Regions from separate parts of the Homo sapiens genome. Here region 1 is linked to region 2. The links are contacts of gene promoters, found by promoter capture Hi-C in human tissues and cell types (Jung and others, 2019). All regions are on one chromosome and are shown on one strand. The core of a region is centred on a gene start or on the middle of the fragment in contact, and the rest is flanking DNA. Distances in the headings are between cores, read along the strand shown.

Evidence for each region. The method cuts DNA at HindIII sites, captures the fragments that hold promoters and counts their contacts. A contact is called where the count stands out against the background at its distance.
Region 1: a contact is called between the fragment with the promoter of JAG2 here and the fragment with the promoter of TEX22 in region 2, in 1 of the 25 tissues and cell types used here (H1 embryonic stem cells).

The regions. Positions count from the first base shown.
Region 1 is chr14:105,163,936-105,171,213 of GRCh38, forward strand. JAG2 (jagged canonical Notch ligand 2) reads right to left here and starts at 4,841. Exons shown (of 26, transcript NM_002226.5): 1 at 4,420-4,841; 2 at 3,822-4,172. The coding sequence starts at 4,485. RefSeq lists enhancers at 1-24, 3,563-4,062, 6,711-7,278. The HindIII fragment of the contact is 20,950 bases long and covers 1-7,278 here.
Region 2 is chr14:105,393,141-105,399,929 of GRCh38, forward strand. It overlaps TEX22 (testis expressed 22), which reads left to right and starts at 5,398. Exons shown (of 4, transcript NM_001195082.2): 1 at 5,398-5,495; 2 at 6,162-6,350. The coding sequence starts at 6,201. PACS2 (phosphofurin acidic cluster sorting protein 2) reads left to right here. Exons shown (of 25, transcript NM_001100913.3): 24 at 82-195; 25 at 1,414-5,007. The coding sequence ends at 1,532. RefSeq lists a silencer at 4,911-5,820 and enhancers at 5,488-5,998, 5,999-6,509. The HindIII fragment of the contact is 31,919 bases long and covers 1-6,789 here.

The DNA.
Region 1 (7,278 bases), core at 3,591-6,090, 230 kb before region 2:
CCCCCACTCCACCACCAGCAGCAGCTCAGGCCGAAGCCTGGCTCCACAAGCACCCCTTCACTGGCCTAGCTTGCTCCCCTCATAAAGACACCATGGAGCAGCCCAGGAGGGCCCCTGAGAGCAGCAGTCCCCTCCCACCCAGGCCTGCCGCCTGCTCCCCAACCCGCCCCTCCACCTCCCAGCCTTCCTATCGTGCTGCGGCTTTGACCCTTCAGCCCACCCTCAGGGACCAGCGACAAACCCCCAGCCCACTCTCCAATCCTCCCTGGCCAAGGGCAGTCCTCCCTGGCTCCAATGGTCCCCGTGTTGCCTGGGCACTGAATGCCCCACCCTGCCCCCATACCAAAGCTTTGAACCAGACCCCCAATGTACAAGGCGGACATGCCCTGAGTTCTCCCCAGGGCTCTGGGCCCCAGGGCCATGGCAGGAGGAACAGACCGATGCCCACCCAACACAGGAACCCAGATGCCCACATTCCATACCAGACCAGCCAGCTCTCCTGGTCCCTACTGGGAAGGTGTGGGAAGGAGGGGGGTGGTCCCCAGTGTGCAGACAGGATCCCCTGAAGGTAGGGTGGGGAGGCCAGGGCCCTGTCATCCCCAGCCCAAGCTCAGAAAAAACAGGAAGCAGAGTGGTGCTGAACCTCACACCTGCCACGAGCAGCTTAGGTAGCTCCAGGCACAGACCTCAGCCTGGCCCACCTTGAGCCCTAGGGCGGCTGGATGCAGGGGGTGGGCTCTGTAAAAACCTTCCTCCCTAGGGGGCAAAGGAGAGGGTAGGGAAGGCTGGGAAGGGGAGGAACTGGACAGGTCTGGGAGCCGGGCTGGGGGCACAAGCAGAGCCCGAGCTGGGAGTCCAGCAGCCCCATCTGACTTCGTGAGACCTGCAATGAAAAAGCGGCAGTGTGCCCCTTTCACAGGTGAGAAAAGCTCAGCCCTTCTGATGGCCCAGGACCTCAGGCCTCCTGAGCTGATAGACGCAGGGTCAGCCCCAGGCCCACCTCCTGTATCTACAGGGCCTTCACCCATCCCGTTCTCCTCATAAGCCCAGATCTGTCACGGGGACCATGCTCCAGCCACACCACCCCGCACAGCTGCCCTGGAGCCCAGCACACACATGCCAAGACAGAACAAGAAAGACCCTCGCTGGCAGGCAGGCTCCTGGGCTCCTGGCTCCAGAGATGGGCCAGCCAGGCAGGCACGACTTCCAGCTGCACCTCTGAGGGTGGGGCCCTGGCTGCCCAGGTCACGGCCAACTGCCACCACCCTGCTCCTCCCTCAGCCAGCAGGTGTCCCCTGGGCCTGCCACCTACCAGGCCCCAGAGCAAAGCTCCCTGCTGCCCCCAGCATGACACTACTCCTCCCCAAACCTCCATCACCACCTGCCATGCCTACAGAGCACCCGGGGTGCGTGCACACACGCAGCTGGGAGAATGTGGCCTCACCCTGCCAGCTACAAGCCAGGCACCAGAACCAACCCAGGCTGACACCGGCCTCCTGGGGACGTCTGGGGGTGGAGCCAGGAGAGGAGGGGCAGCCAGGCAGCCTGCTGGCATGTGGTCCACCACCTCTCCACATTCAAGACCCTGGGCCCACCCACTGAGGGAAGCTGAGCCCGAGACCAGCACAGATCCATGACTAATAGCACACAGACCCCGGCCACAAGAAGCCAGGCCAGGGGGCAGAGGGCCACCCAGCCAGGCCTGGGTCAACAGCAGAGACCACAAGGTGGGAGAGTCACTCAGGGGGCAGGGGGTGGAGGGAGCGAATGCAGAGCCCAGACTCCCCCACTCCTCTTCCACAAGGCCCTCTCATTCCCTTTACTCCAAGGAGCCCAAAAGCCCCACGGGCCTGGGCAGGATGCCACCCTAGCCTCCAGGCTGAAACCCCTCCTCAGGTCCCAGGGAGCCTGAACTCGGTCCTTGCCTTCCCATCACAGCCAAGTACACCTCAGCTCACCGCACAGAGCTGGACCTCAGCAAGCCAGGGCAGCATGGCCAGGGACTGCCGCCGCCCGAGTGCAAATACCAGGGTGCTGGCATCACGGCACAGCTCCCGCCCGGCAGCCAGGCCACATGGCAGGAGACCAGGGCTGCCCCCAAACACGCAGCTATGACTCTGCCCTGGCCCCCAACCCAGAGACAGGCCGCCTGCCCCCTCCTGGGGCATTCGAGGAACCGGCTGGAAGCAAGAGGCAGGGAGGTGAGCTGGCCCCGAAACCCAGTGCCCGGACTCCAAGGAAGGCAAGGGCCTACCCGGTCCCATCCCACACCTGACCGGCTGGCCCGCGGGGCGAAGAGCCAGGGCGGACACGCGATAGCCCGCCACATTCCTCCAAGACCTCCCTGCCCCCACACCCACTGCTGCCAACTCGAGCAGAAAACACATCCTCAGGTAGCGATGTGGGGCCACGCTGGCTCAGGCCCAGGTGCAGATGACAGGCTGCGGGCCCTGCTCAGACCTGCCTGCTGCACCGCCGTGGGGGCGAGGGGCTGGGCTTCTCACAACTGCCTGGGCCCTCCCATGCCCGCCCCTGCCTTTTCCATCTGGGGGACACTTTCCCCTCTCTGGGGCCCCCCTGGTCAAGGGATACTCGGCGGGGTGCTCACGGGTTGAGGACATGGCCAGAGGAGACTGTGGCCAGCTTCCACGGGTGGGAGCTCAGGAAGCGGTGAGGATGGGGGCAGCAGGCAAGGCTGCCAGCCAGGGCTGCAAAGGTACAGCACAGGACTGGGAGCCACACACGGCAGGCCCAACTGGCGTGAGCTCGGCAGGGATTGCCCTCAACTCACAATCACTTCAGGGCCCAGGATACCAGGTGGGCACACTCCGGTGCCTCCTGCTGACTGGAGCCACTTCCTGGCTCCCAGATCCATCTACTCCCTGATCACAGGTCTGCATGGTGCTCTCATTCCCGCACTCACCCAGTTCCAGGCCCCCAGCACAATGACCAAGCAGGGAAGGACCTCTGGGCACCAGGGCAAGGCCGTGCTCCAGGCAATGAGGTAAGGCGCCCGAGGCCTGGGCCTGCCCACCTACCACTACCCACCTGCCAGCCCACTGGGATGAGTACCTGTTTCCCAGTGACACTGGACCCCTACCACCCCTCCTCCCAGCACGCCCAGGCCAGGGCTCCTGCCTGACTGGCCACCTGCCAGGGGAGACCAGACAGCCCCGACTCAGCTTCTGCCCCTCCAGAATAACAAAACCAAAAAAACCCACAAACAGGGCAGTGCCACAGAAGGTCACTGCACCAGGATCCACTATCTCTGTCTCTGAACGATCTTGGGTCACCATCGGGGGCTTCTGCCGACATAAGCGTTAGGCGTTAGGCTCTCCCGGGCCTAGGTCCCACGGCGCCCGCCCGTGCCCCCCAGGCATCCAGGAAACTGCAGGGCAGGCGCAGGCTGGCCACGGGCCCGGGGCGGCTCAGTCAGGGCCTGCCCTAGACCAGCCCCAGCACGCGCTGCGCACATGCCACCGCGGCCTGCCCGGGACCGGGGCGCCTCGCCTCGCCTCCCCACCCAGACAGACACGCGCAGGGCGACGCAGGCACACGCCGCACACCGCCGCGCACGCGGGACGCCGCCGCCCCGCCCCCGCCGCGACCCCGCTCCCGGTGGCCCCGGGGCCCCGGCGCGCCCACGTGGCCAGGCGCGGACCAAGTCCCCAGAGCACGCGCCCCCTGCCGGCCCCGCCCCGCCTGGGCGCGCGCGGCTCGCACGCAGACCCGGCCGCAGGTGTTGGGGGTCGCGAAGCGCGCGGGGCCGGGGCGCGGAGAGAGAGGGAAGGGCTGGAGCACGAGGGATGGAGCGCACGTACCGGCCAGGCGAACTGGAAGGGGATGACGACGAGGCCCGGGTCCTGGTCGCCGCCGGCCCGGGCCCGCGCCCGCGCTCGGTCCCCCGCAGCGCCCGCCGGCGGCAGGTAGAAGGAGTTGCCGCCCAGCACGGGCGTGGCGCCGTGGCCGTAGCTGCAGGGCCCCGTGGGCGTCACCTTGGCCTGGTACTCCTTAAGGCACACGCGCACGTACGTGTCGCACTCGTCGTGGCCGCAGCCCCCCGCGCGCGTTGTCCGGCCGTCGCCGTCACAGCAGGCGCCGCTCAGCAGCTCCCCGTTCACGTTCCGCAGCGCGCTCAGCTGCAGCTCGAAATAGCCCATGGGCCGCGCCGCCTAAAAATAAGGCAGCGGGAGAGCGGAGGGAGGCGCGGGCCGGGGTCGGCGGGCCGGGCGCCAGGGGTGGGGGAACAGGCCCCGCCGCCCCGCCCCCACCCAGCCGCGCCCGCCCGGAGCCCCAGCCGCCGCGCGCAGCCTCGAGGGCTTCCGAACCACGGCGGCCCCAGGCAGTGCCCGCCCGGCCCCTAGGGGCGGCCCGGTGTGCCCCGTCCGCGACCCCCGCCGCCCCCGCCGCCCCGCTCACCTGCACCCAGAGCGCCAGCAGCAGCAGCAGCCGCCGGGGAAGGCGCCCCCGGCCCTGCGCCCGCATTGCCCCCGCGACCCGCCCGCCCGGCCCCGCCGCCGCCGCCCGCGCCCGGCTCCCAGCCGCCGCGCCGGCCTCCCAGCGCCCGCCCGCCCTCCGAGCGCCCGCAGAGGCAGCGGCAGCGGCAGAGGCGGCGGCGGCGGCGGCGCGGGCGGGGTCGAGCGCAGCGCCGCGGCGCGCGGGCCTGGGCGGCGGGCGTGCAGGGGCGGCGGCAGCTCCGGCTCGCTGGCGGCCGCGCTCCGGCTGCCCGGCCCGGCTCCCACCCGGCGGCGACGGCGGCGGCGGTGAAGGCAGCGGGTCCCGGCCTCGGCTCTGCGCGCCCGCGCTCCCGGCACCGCAGCCAACAAGTTCGGAACGAGACTGACAGCTCGCTCGCCCATTCGTCACCCGCGCACCTGCATATGCATGAGGGGGCGGGGCCGCGCCGCGGGGTGGGGCCGGGGGGGGGTCCGGGGGCGCCCCAGGCTTTAAAGGCGGTGGAGGGCGTCGCCTGCCAGCGCCCCGGCCCGGCGCGCGCCCCCCAGGGCGCCCGGGCGGCGGGGGCACGGGGCCTCGGGGTCAGCGCGGGCCGCGGGGGCCCCGCTCACACCTCCGCGTGAGTCGGCGAGGCGTGCGCCGGCGCCGCAAAGCTGCCTCCCCTCCTCCGCCTGGGCTCCTGCCGGGTGTCAGAAACCGGGGGTGGGGCGCCCCGAGGTTGCCGTGTGGTCCCCTCCCATCAGTGCGCCACCGCCGCGCTCCTCGCAGTCCCAGAGGAGATGCCGCCTCCTACTCTGATCAGGGCTCGGCCCCCACGCGGGGTGGCGCGGCCCTGGGGCCAGAGCCGGGCCCAGCCCCTACTGCGCGCCCCCCACCTCCTCCGAGAATCTCCCCTTCTCCGCGCCGCTCCTACCGCCTCCACGCCGGCTGCAGGGGGCGCTGCGCCCCTCCGACGCCCCTGCCTTCCCCTCTGCGAGGCGCGCTGGTCAAGCAGCCAGTCAACAAATGCTCCAGGGTGCAGACTGCTCAGCTCGGCGCTGGCGTCGAGGTAGCCAGGCCATGCCCTCAGGAAATGCTCAGGCCACATTCCCCGTTTCCCGCCTCTCGCCCCCCAAACTCAGGTCTGGGCTTGGGGGGCGAGAGGCGGGAAATGGGGAACAAAAGTCGGCAGTGCCTGTCCCTGAAGGCTACCCCGAGAGAGGCCTCCCACTGCTGCCCTGGTCACCAGGCTTCCACACCCCATCCTCTGCGGTCACCTCCTTGCCCTCTCCCTGGGTGACCTCGCAGCTCCTCCACAGGGTCAAAACCAATGGCACCTTCCTCTCCTCCAGTGAGCACGGTCCTTTCCAGAGCTAGGGGTCACCTTGGTGGTTAAAGATCCCCATATGGTCCAGAGGGGTCCTCAACCCATCCCCATGATAACTGAGCTGTCTTCTCTCCCCCTAGCTCCTCTCGCAAATTTGCCCTGTGCCCGGAGCTGGGTGGCTGTGCAGCCCCCCAGCCTGGAGCAAGTCACTGCCACCATGCTGCTGGGGCTGAGGGCTGAAGGAAGAGAGCTTTGGAGGCACAGGGCCTGTGAACACCCCATGCGCAGGGTCTGCCTGCTCCATCCCTGTTTAGCAGCTCCTCCAGGATCCAGGCCGCAGGCTCAGCTGAAGGTCCCTAAAGGGGTGGGTGGGAGCCCCCCATGCCCACCTCAGCTGGCTCTGCTCAGAGTGCCCACCCCAAACTTGGTGGTGGGTAGGCTTCGTGGGGATTAAGACACAAGCCAGGATGAGGCCCGCACAGAGACCCCCACCAAACAAGAGAATCCAAGCTGTGTTCAGAGCCTTCCAGTTGCCGCCTTCCGGTGTGTGGGCGGTGATTACCGCCTACGGGGGGAGGGGCTCCCTGTGGAGATGCCACCTCTCCTGTGCTTTGGCCTGGGGGCAGGTACTCGGGTACTCGAGAGAGGGAAGCCCCAGGACAGAGAAGCCCCCTGCCCGGCTCCAGAGGCCCAGGGCTCCATCCCCACCTGCGCCCACTGCCCCACTATGGTGGGGGAGGGGGTGCTGGGTGCCTCTGCTGGGCACTTGGCCAAGTGGTGAACAAGGGAGACTCCGCCCCTGCACACCCTCAGGAGCCCCCAGCCCGGGGGTGGACAGAGGACTTAGACAAGTCATACAGAAGCTGGCATAGGGGGCCGCCAGAGCGTGGACGGGCATGGGTCAGCCAGACCTCACGATGTCCATGAGAGCACCCAGGTCAGGAAGGTGGCCGCACCTGCCCTTAGGAAGGAGGGGGACATAGGAGGCATCGGAGAGGGGGTCCCTTCCCTGCAGGAATTTCAGCAGCCCTTGAGCCAGAAATGCCAGGCAGCTGGACCCTGGTTTGAGTTTCCAGAAGGCAGCAGTGGGAACCCTCGCCCCTCATACATATTTCACAAAACACATTTGCCCCCTGCTGCACCTTGCTGGGGTGAGGGGCTGAGATCAGTGGCGGCCAGGGCTCCAGCCCCAACCCTCACCAGACCAGGCTACCTGGTCTCTTCTAGTAAGGGACCTCGTCATTGTTCTGGGGCCCACTGGACCACAGCACCCTCCAGCCTCCCAGAGCCACCCGTCCCCCAGCCTGGAGGGCTCCCACTCTGAGCGCTGGGCGGTGCCCAGCTTGTATGCAGAGGGCAAGGGTGCAGCTGCTCAGCCTGGCCAGGGGCTCTGGGCCCATAGGGCAGTCCTGGGGACCAGGCTGAGGACGGGCTGCCAGGGGTTTGGACAGAGCCGGCGAGGCTCCAGAGTAAGCTGTGCTTCCGCTGGGTCCTGCAGTGCTAAATATAGCAGACGG
Region 2 (6,789 bases), core at 4,148-6,647:
CTCCCCCACACGTACCCCTGGCCCTGGCCCCAGCCCCGAAGGAGCAGCAAGATGACAGCAGGGCCTCTTTTCTCCTCCCAGTGATGTTTCTGCCCAAGAAAGCGAAGGACAAGGACGTGGAGTCTAAGAGCCAGTGCATTGAGGGCATCAGCCGGCTCATCTGCACTGCCAGGCAGCAGCAGAACATGCTGCGGGGTGAGCACCACCGGCCCCGGGGTCTGTAGAGTGGGACGTAGGTGAGAGCACAGCAAGGCTGCTTTGGAGCCCAGCCTAGGAGCTGCGGGTGTCTCGCTGTGACACGCACATTCCACGATTCAAGGTGCAAGCACATTCGATGAAGCCCTCAGTGAGGCTGACAACCTTCCAAATGCTGAGAAAGAATTTTTTTTCAACCCTTTTTGCTTTTTAAAAATAATGACTTGTTTCGTTTTTCTTGTTTGTTTTTTGTTTTGGTTTTTTTTTTTTTGAGACAGAGTTTTGCTCTTGTTACCCAGGCTGGAGTGCAATGGTGTGATCTCAGCTCACTGCAACTTCCATCTCTCAGGTTCAAGCGATTCTCCTGCCTGAGCCTCCCAAGTAGCTGGGATTACAGGCGCGTGCCACCACGCCCGGCTAATTTTTTGTATTTTTAGTAGAGATGGGGTTTTACCGTGTTGGCCAGGCTGGTCTCAAACTCCTGACCTCAGGTGATCTGCCTGCCTCGGCCTCCCAAAGTGCTGGGATTATGGGCGCGAGCCACCGCACCTGGCCTAAAAATAATGGCTTGTAGTTTAAAAGTGTTGGCTGAGCGCAGAGGCTGAGGCAGGAGAATGGCGTGAACCCGGGTGGCGGAGCTTGCAGTGAGCCGAGATTGCGCCACTGCACTCCAGCCTGGGTGACAGAGCAAGACTCCGCCTCAAAAAAAAAAAAAAAAAAAGGGGTTTTGGAGAAGATACTCTGCAAGTAACTGTTTCAGAAACGGAGCTCTGGGAGGCTTTCCTCTTTTTGAGCACGGGTCAGATGACCTCCAGGTCGACGTGGCCCTGTCTCCCCACAGGGGTCTCTGTTTTAAGGGGGCTCCCACTGTCTTCTTCCCACACCTGTGCAGGTGGAAGTGGATGTGGACGAGCAGCGCCTGGCGGAAGGTGGTGGGGTCTGCTCCTTCCACCTGCAGGCAGCCCTGGGGGAAATGCTGCCCTCCCCACCCCCCAGGGCTCTGAGTGTGGAGGGCAGGGGCAGGAATGGCGTCCCTCAGGAGCCAGCATGGCCCTGGAGCCCCCGAGTCCCTGAGGAAAGTGTTGATGCCCTCCAGCATGGGGCTCCTTCTCATCCTGTACGCCCGGCTGCCACCCAGCCTGGTGGGCCAGGCAGGCAGGTGGATAGGGTGGGCAGGCCGGGCAGGGGGGCAGGCGGTCAGGCAGCCCTCTCCCACAGTCCTCATCGACGGCGTGGAGTGCAGCGACGTCAAGTTCTTCCAGCTGGCCGCGCAGTGGTCCTCGCACGTGAAGCACTTCCCCATCTGCATCTTCGGACACTCCAAGGCCACCTTCTAGCCCCACCCACCAGGGGGCCCACCTCCTGCCCCATGCTGTGAGGGGCCCAGCTGCATTTCTGTTAACATTTCAGTTTACTACAGAGACAGACGCTTAAAACACAAAGAGAAACAGTCTTAAGTATGAATGTGCTCACAACGTGGAAACTAACGGGGGAGCTCCTGCCAGGAGCCGAATAACTGCTCTGCTTATTAACCCGAACGTTCGGCCCGGGGCTGGGAAGCCAGAAGGACGATGCTGAGCCATGGATCGCGGAAGGCGTCCTCTGGCCTCAGGAGCCACCCAGAGCCTCACAGGCTGAGTTCTTGCCTCTGTGTCCTGTCCTTCCTGGAAGTCAGGACTCTGCTTCCTCAGGGAGCCCGGGGAAGGCGGAGCTCAGTGGCCACAGGCCGAGGGCCATGGGGCCGCTCAGTCCCGTTGGGGTTGTCCTGAGTTGAGCCTGGGGGGGCCGTCCTGCCCGCCTAAGAGATGCCCCCAGCACCGCACACTCGTGGTTCCCAATAAACTCCTGCCTGCGGCGGAGGTTTTATAGCAGCAGATATTTTTAATGCTTTTCAATACATGTTCTAATGTAGCTGCCAAACATGTTGCTCTTCTGAAGTCCCCCTGGGGCTGGGCAGAGCCAGCAGAGCCTGCCCCCACTTCCCCAGCCCCTGCCCCACCCCGCCTCACACCTTCCCCACTCTCAGGCTGTTCTTGAAACACCATGAGGCTTCTGCGTGTAGTCCCTGCCCCAAACTTAGCAAGCACAGGGGCCTCCACAGCCCAGGTGGCCCCAGAAAATGTTCCAGAGCCCAGCTTGGTACATAGTGAGATGCTGCTGGGGTTGGCCTGAGGTGGGGGCCACTTCCTCCACCCCAGTGGGTATGTCTGAGGTCAGCCATGGGGATATCTGGGTTGAGATTCAGGTTTTGGTGAATATGGGGCAGGCGTCCAGATGTGTTTGTGTCACCTGCTGCAACGCTGTAGCCAATGAAGATTCCAGCGGGATGGCCTGACCAGCGGGGCCGGCACTTTGGAGCCGTGGGTGCAGCCAGGTACCCCGTGCAGGGCCTGGGAGGCTCTCCAGGCCACAGTCCTCAGAGCGTGTTGGGTCCCATGTTGTGTGTGGGTTCCATGCCCTCCACACAGCAGGAGAGGGCTTCCCTGACCACACCTGCCCCCTCAGTCCTGCTTCTCCCCAGTAAGCCTGCACTGTGGGGTCTCCATAGGAGGAGCTGGGGAAGCTGGGGCCCTCCCAGGGGTCCTGATCGACCCTGGGGGCTCTTGGCCTGGTTTCGTAAGATGGAGCACTGCAAAAGGCCATGCTCAGAAAGCAAACGCAGGGCAGGGTGGGCCTCGAGCCGGGGCTGGAGGGGTCTCCACCCTTGCTGGCCTGAGAGATGGCCCACATTTCTTACTTGTGACCGCCCTGCTCTTCCTGGCCGCCCCCCCCAGGTGGCTGAACAGGGTGATTTTGTTGTGGTGAGGGGCCAGGATGTGGCCTGGTGTGCAGCCTCAGCTCCCTGGGTTCAGGCCTCAGAGGTAGCCTGTGTGCAGGAGGCAGAGCCCCAGCCCCTCCCAGCCAGAGCCCCTCCACACCAGGGACTCCTCCTTCACCTGGGACCAGGAGCCTGGGGCACACCCCAGGGTGGGGGAGAGGGTAGGAAGGTCTCCCATTGAATCCTGGCTTCAGGCTCTGCCCCGAGAAGTGTCTGCGGTGAGGGTGTGAGCCCCGGGCTGATGGCCTCTGACCCCGGCAACAGGTGGGACCCTGACTGACTCGTTCAGCTGCCCCCAAGCTGGGCTGCAGAGCATCTGTTTTTCTGCTCTCCAGTTTCTTTTCTTTTTTTTTTTTTTTTTTTTTGAGATGGAGTCTTGCTCTGTTGCCCAGGCTGGAGTGCAGTGGCATGATCTCAGCTCACTGCAGCCTCCGTCTCCCAGGTTCAAGCAGTTCTCCTGCCTCAGCCTCCCGAGTAGCTGGGATTACAGGCGTGTGCCACCACACCTGGCTATTTTTTTTGTATTTTTAGTAGAGATGGGGTTTTGCCATGTTGGCCAGGCTGGTCTTGAACTCCTGACCTCAAGTGATCCACCCGCCTCGGCCTCCCAAAGTGCTGGGATTACAGGCGTGAGTCACCGCGTCCTGCCTGCTCTTCCTGTTTCTTTCCCAAGGGTCACACTCAGTAGGGAGATGAAGGTGGAAACATCCTTGCTGTGGCTTTCTGGCCTCAGAGCAGGTTTTAGAGGAAGGGGCCACAGGCTGCCTAGTGCATCCTGGCTGTGGGCAGCCCCTTTCCTGGAGCCCTCCTGCCTACCCCGTACCTCCCATCTGGCTGCACAGCTCCATCCTTAGCCACGCAAGGGGAGAACATGGGCAGAGTCTCCATCCAGCAGCTGGGGGTTCTGGTGGCACTCCCTGTGCCCCTGCTGCTGCTGGGCTGTGGGTCTGCCCTGCACCCAGGAGCCCCACGGTCCATCCCCCACACCATGCCCAGCACCAGGGAGGTTGGGCAGACAAGACCTGGGCCATGCCAGCCCTCTGTGCCTCGGTTTTCCCACTGGTTACACAGGATGGTCGCATTTTCCCTGCCTACCTCACAGAGCTGTTCTGAGGGTGCATGGAGGAGCACTCTGTCCCACCAAGGACAACTAGAAACCAAAGCCATCTGACAGCCAGTGCGGTAAGGGCGGGGGATGTGTGTGTGAGGTGTGCACACCCCCCGAGAACCTGGCCCTGGACTGGCCTCACAGGACAGGAGGCAGCCCCTTGTAGAGCTAGGGCTCAGCCCCATCAGTCTCAAAGGTTAAGCCACCAGTCACCACCGAGGCACCCCTCAGGCCTGGTGGCCACTGTCCACTATTACGTAGACAGACCCCACCCTCACCCAGGCCAGCTGTGGGCCAGTCCCGCCCTGCAATCTGGTCTGCTGCCTTCCTCTTCCATGTTGGTCCCCTTGGCCACTGTCTCTGGGCATGCAAGCCAGTGTCCTGGTTCAGTGCCTCGGCCAGAGCTGGGGCAGGAGAGGGGCCTCTGGGTGAGAGCTGGGGGTGTCTCTGCAGGGTACTGGCAGCCTTGCCACACTGTCCTCATTCCCAGATGGAAAGACCTGAGTGCCTCTCGCCTTCCTCCGGGAATGAATTCCTCATGAAAATGACCAGGCCACTTCTTCCGAGGGCCAGGCCGCCCCCTCCCCGAGACCTGTCCTGCCGTCCGCGGGTGTGTGGCCTGTAGGGGACTGAGAGCTGGGCTTGCTGGGCACCTCTGGAATCTGACCCTGTGGGCCAAAGAAGCACCACTGTAGTTTCTGCAGACCCCCATGCGGTTCATTGTGCATTGTTTGGTTTCTAGGATGTATGTGTTGCTAGTTTTTTTTAATGAAACCCTGGATTAATGTAAATAGCTTTTTGGGGAACGGATTCTAATGTCACGTATGTGACCGTGTGGACTATTTCAAGGTGCTGATGCAACACTAATAAACCTGGAGGGGCCGGCCCCCGCCTGCAGTGTGATTCTCTCGGCCGTCCACCCCTTGGGAGCACGCGGCGGAGCAGCGCCTCCCTCCCGCCCGCGCGCCCCGTCCTGGGTCGCCCCGCCCCAGCCCTGCGGCCCCGCGCGCGCGGAGGTGGCCCGGGGCTCAGCGGCATCGCGCCGCTTGAAGGGCGCAGGGCCGAAAGGGGCTCTGGCCGACAAACCCCAAGTTCAGGTCTGTGCTTCGGGAGACCCCGGAGGCCGACGCCCGGAAGGGCCCGTGGGGCGGTAGCGGCCATAGACCCGGATATGCGCCGGGGACCCCCAGACCGCGCCCATCCCCCACCCGCCGCAACGGAGCCCAGAACGCAGGCGCGGCGCAGACCGGAAGCGGAACCGGTGGGGGCGGGGCTTGCCGTAGCGGACGTTCTGGAGCGAGGCGCCGGCCCCTTGGGCCCCCTCAAGCCGCGGTGTACTCCAGCGGCCCCCTGTGGCCTCTCCATCCGCGGCGGGTCTGTCCCTCCTTCTGTCTCCGGGTGCCCACGTACCCCCCACCTCCGACCGCCGTTCCCGTGTACCCCGCCCCCCCGCCGAACCCCAGAGTGCCCACGGCCTCCAGCGTGTGTCCTGAGCCTTCTTCCCCCGTCCCTCCGCGGACCCCGGCCGCGCAGACCCCGCCTCCCCACCGGAGAGGGCGGGCACGTAAGGGCTCCGGGCTGGGCCTGGGGCGAGGCCTGGGCCGCGTGGAGGGGAGGTCTCAGGGTCGGAAGCGGGGCTGTGGCAAGAGCTCTGGGCCTTTCCTTCGCCCCGGGCGTAGCAAGGCCGGGCCCTGAGAGCGTGCCCGCAGTGCTGGCTGAGGGCTGATGCCCCTGGAACGTTTGAGAAGGCTGGCAGAGGCGTGGAGTCCGTGCAGCAGGCTGCCGAAGGCTTTCCAGGCTCCCGGGGTGGGGTCGGCAGGGGCAGAGAGGACAGTTCGGGAGGCTGGTGTGGAGAAGAGCTGCGGCGGGAGCTGGGGGATCCACTCCACCCAGAGGGGTCAGTGATGCCTGACCTTTGGCTGGAAGGTGACCCTAGCAGACCGCGATACTGCCACCATCTGCCCCCAGGGACTCAGGTATTGGTGGGCACGTGGGTGGCCTTGTGGGCCCCGCCCCACCTCCCCCTGCTCCTACCCCCAGATCTCAGAGGTGTGGACAAGCAGCCTACTAGGGCTAGAGATGGACAGCAGGAAACTGTCCCCCCGGGGGAAGAAGCTGGAGTCGCACCTCTCCCAAGAGCACAGGCGGCCCCCACTGGGCCTGATAGCAGCCTGGGGCCAGCCCAGTATCCAGAGCAGCGTTCAGCAGGGACTGCAGACTCAGGACTGGGTAAGCGGAAGGAAACCCTGGCCGAGGCTACTCTCCTGTCCCCAGCCCGCCTGAGGCCGCTGTCTCTGAAAACTCCAGGCTGGTCGTGATGAGCAGCCTCAGGGGAGGGCTGAGTGGGGACTGATGAGAAACAGATGGCTGGACTCAGGAGGCTCTCTTCCCCATGGCCCTGGACGAGCACCAAGGTGGACCTGCACCCTTCTTGCTTCCAGAACCGTGGGCCGCTGGGCTCTGTAGAGAGGTCTTCCAAGGCCAGGAAGGAGGCAAGGCAACACACTTCCCTTAGCTCTCCCCAGTGCCTCCCACCCCAGGCTGAAGGTGGCAAGAAGCGGGAGGGAAAGCAAGGTCCCCAGGGGGGGTGGTGTCCTCCCAACCAGGTGGGGCAGCTGTCAGGAGAAGGATTTGTCACTGAAAGTTGACCAAAACAAAATAGTGGGAG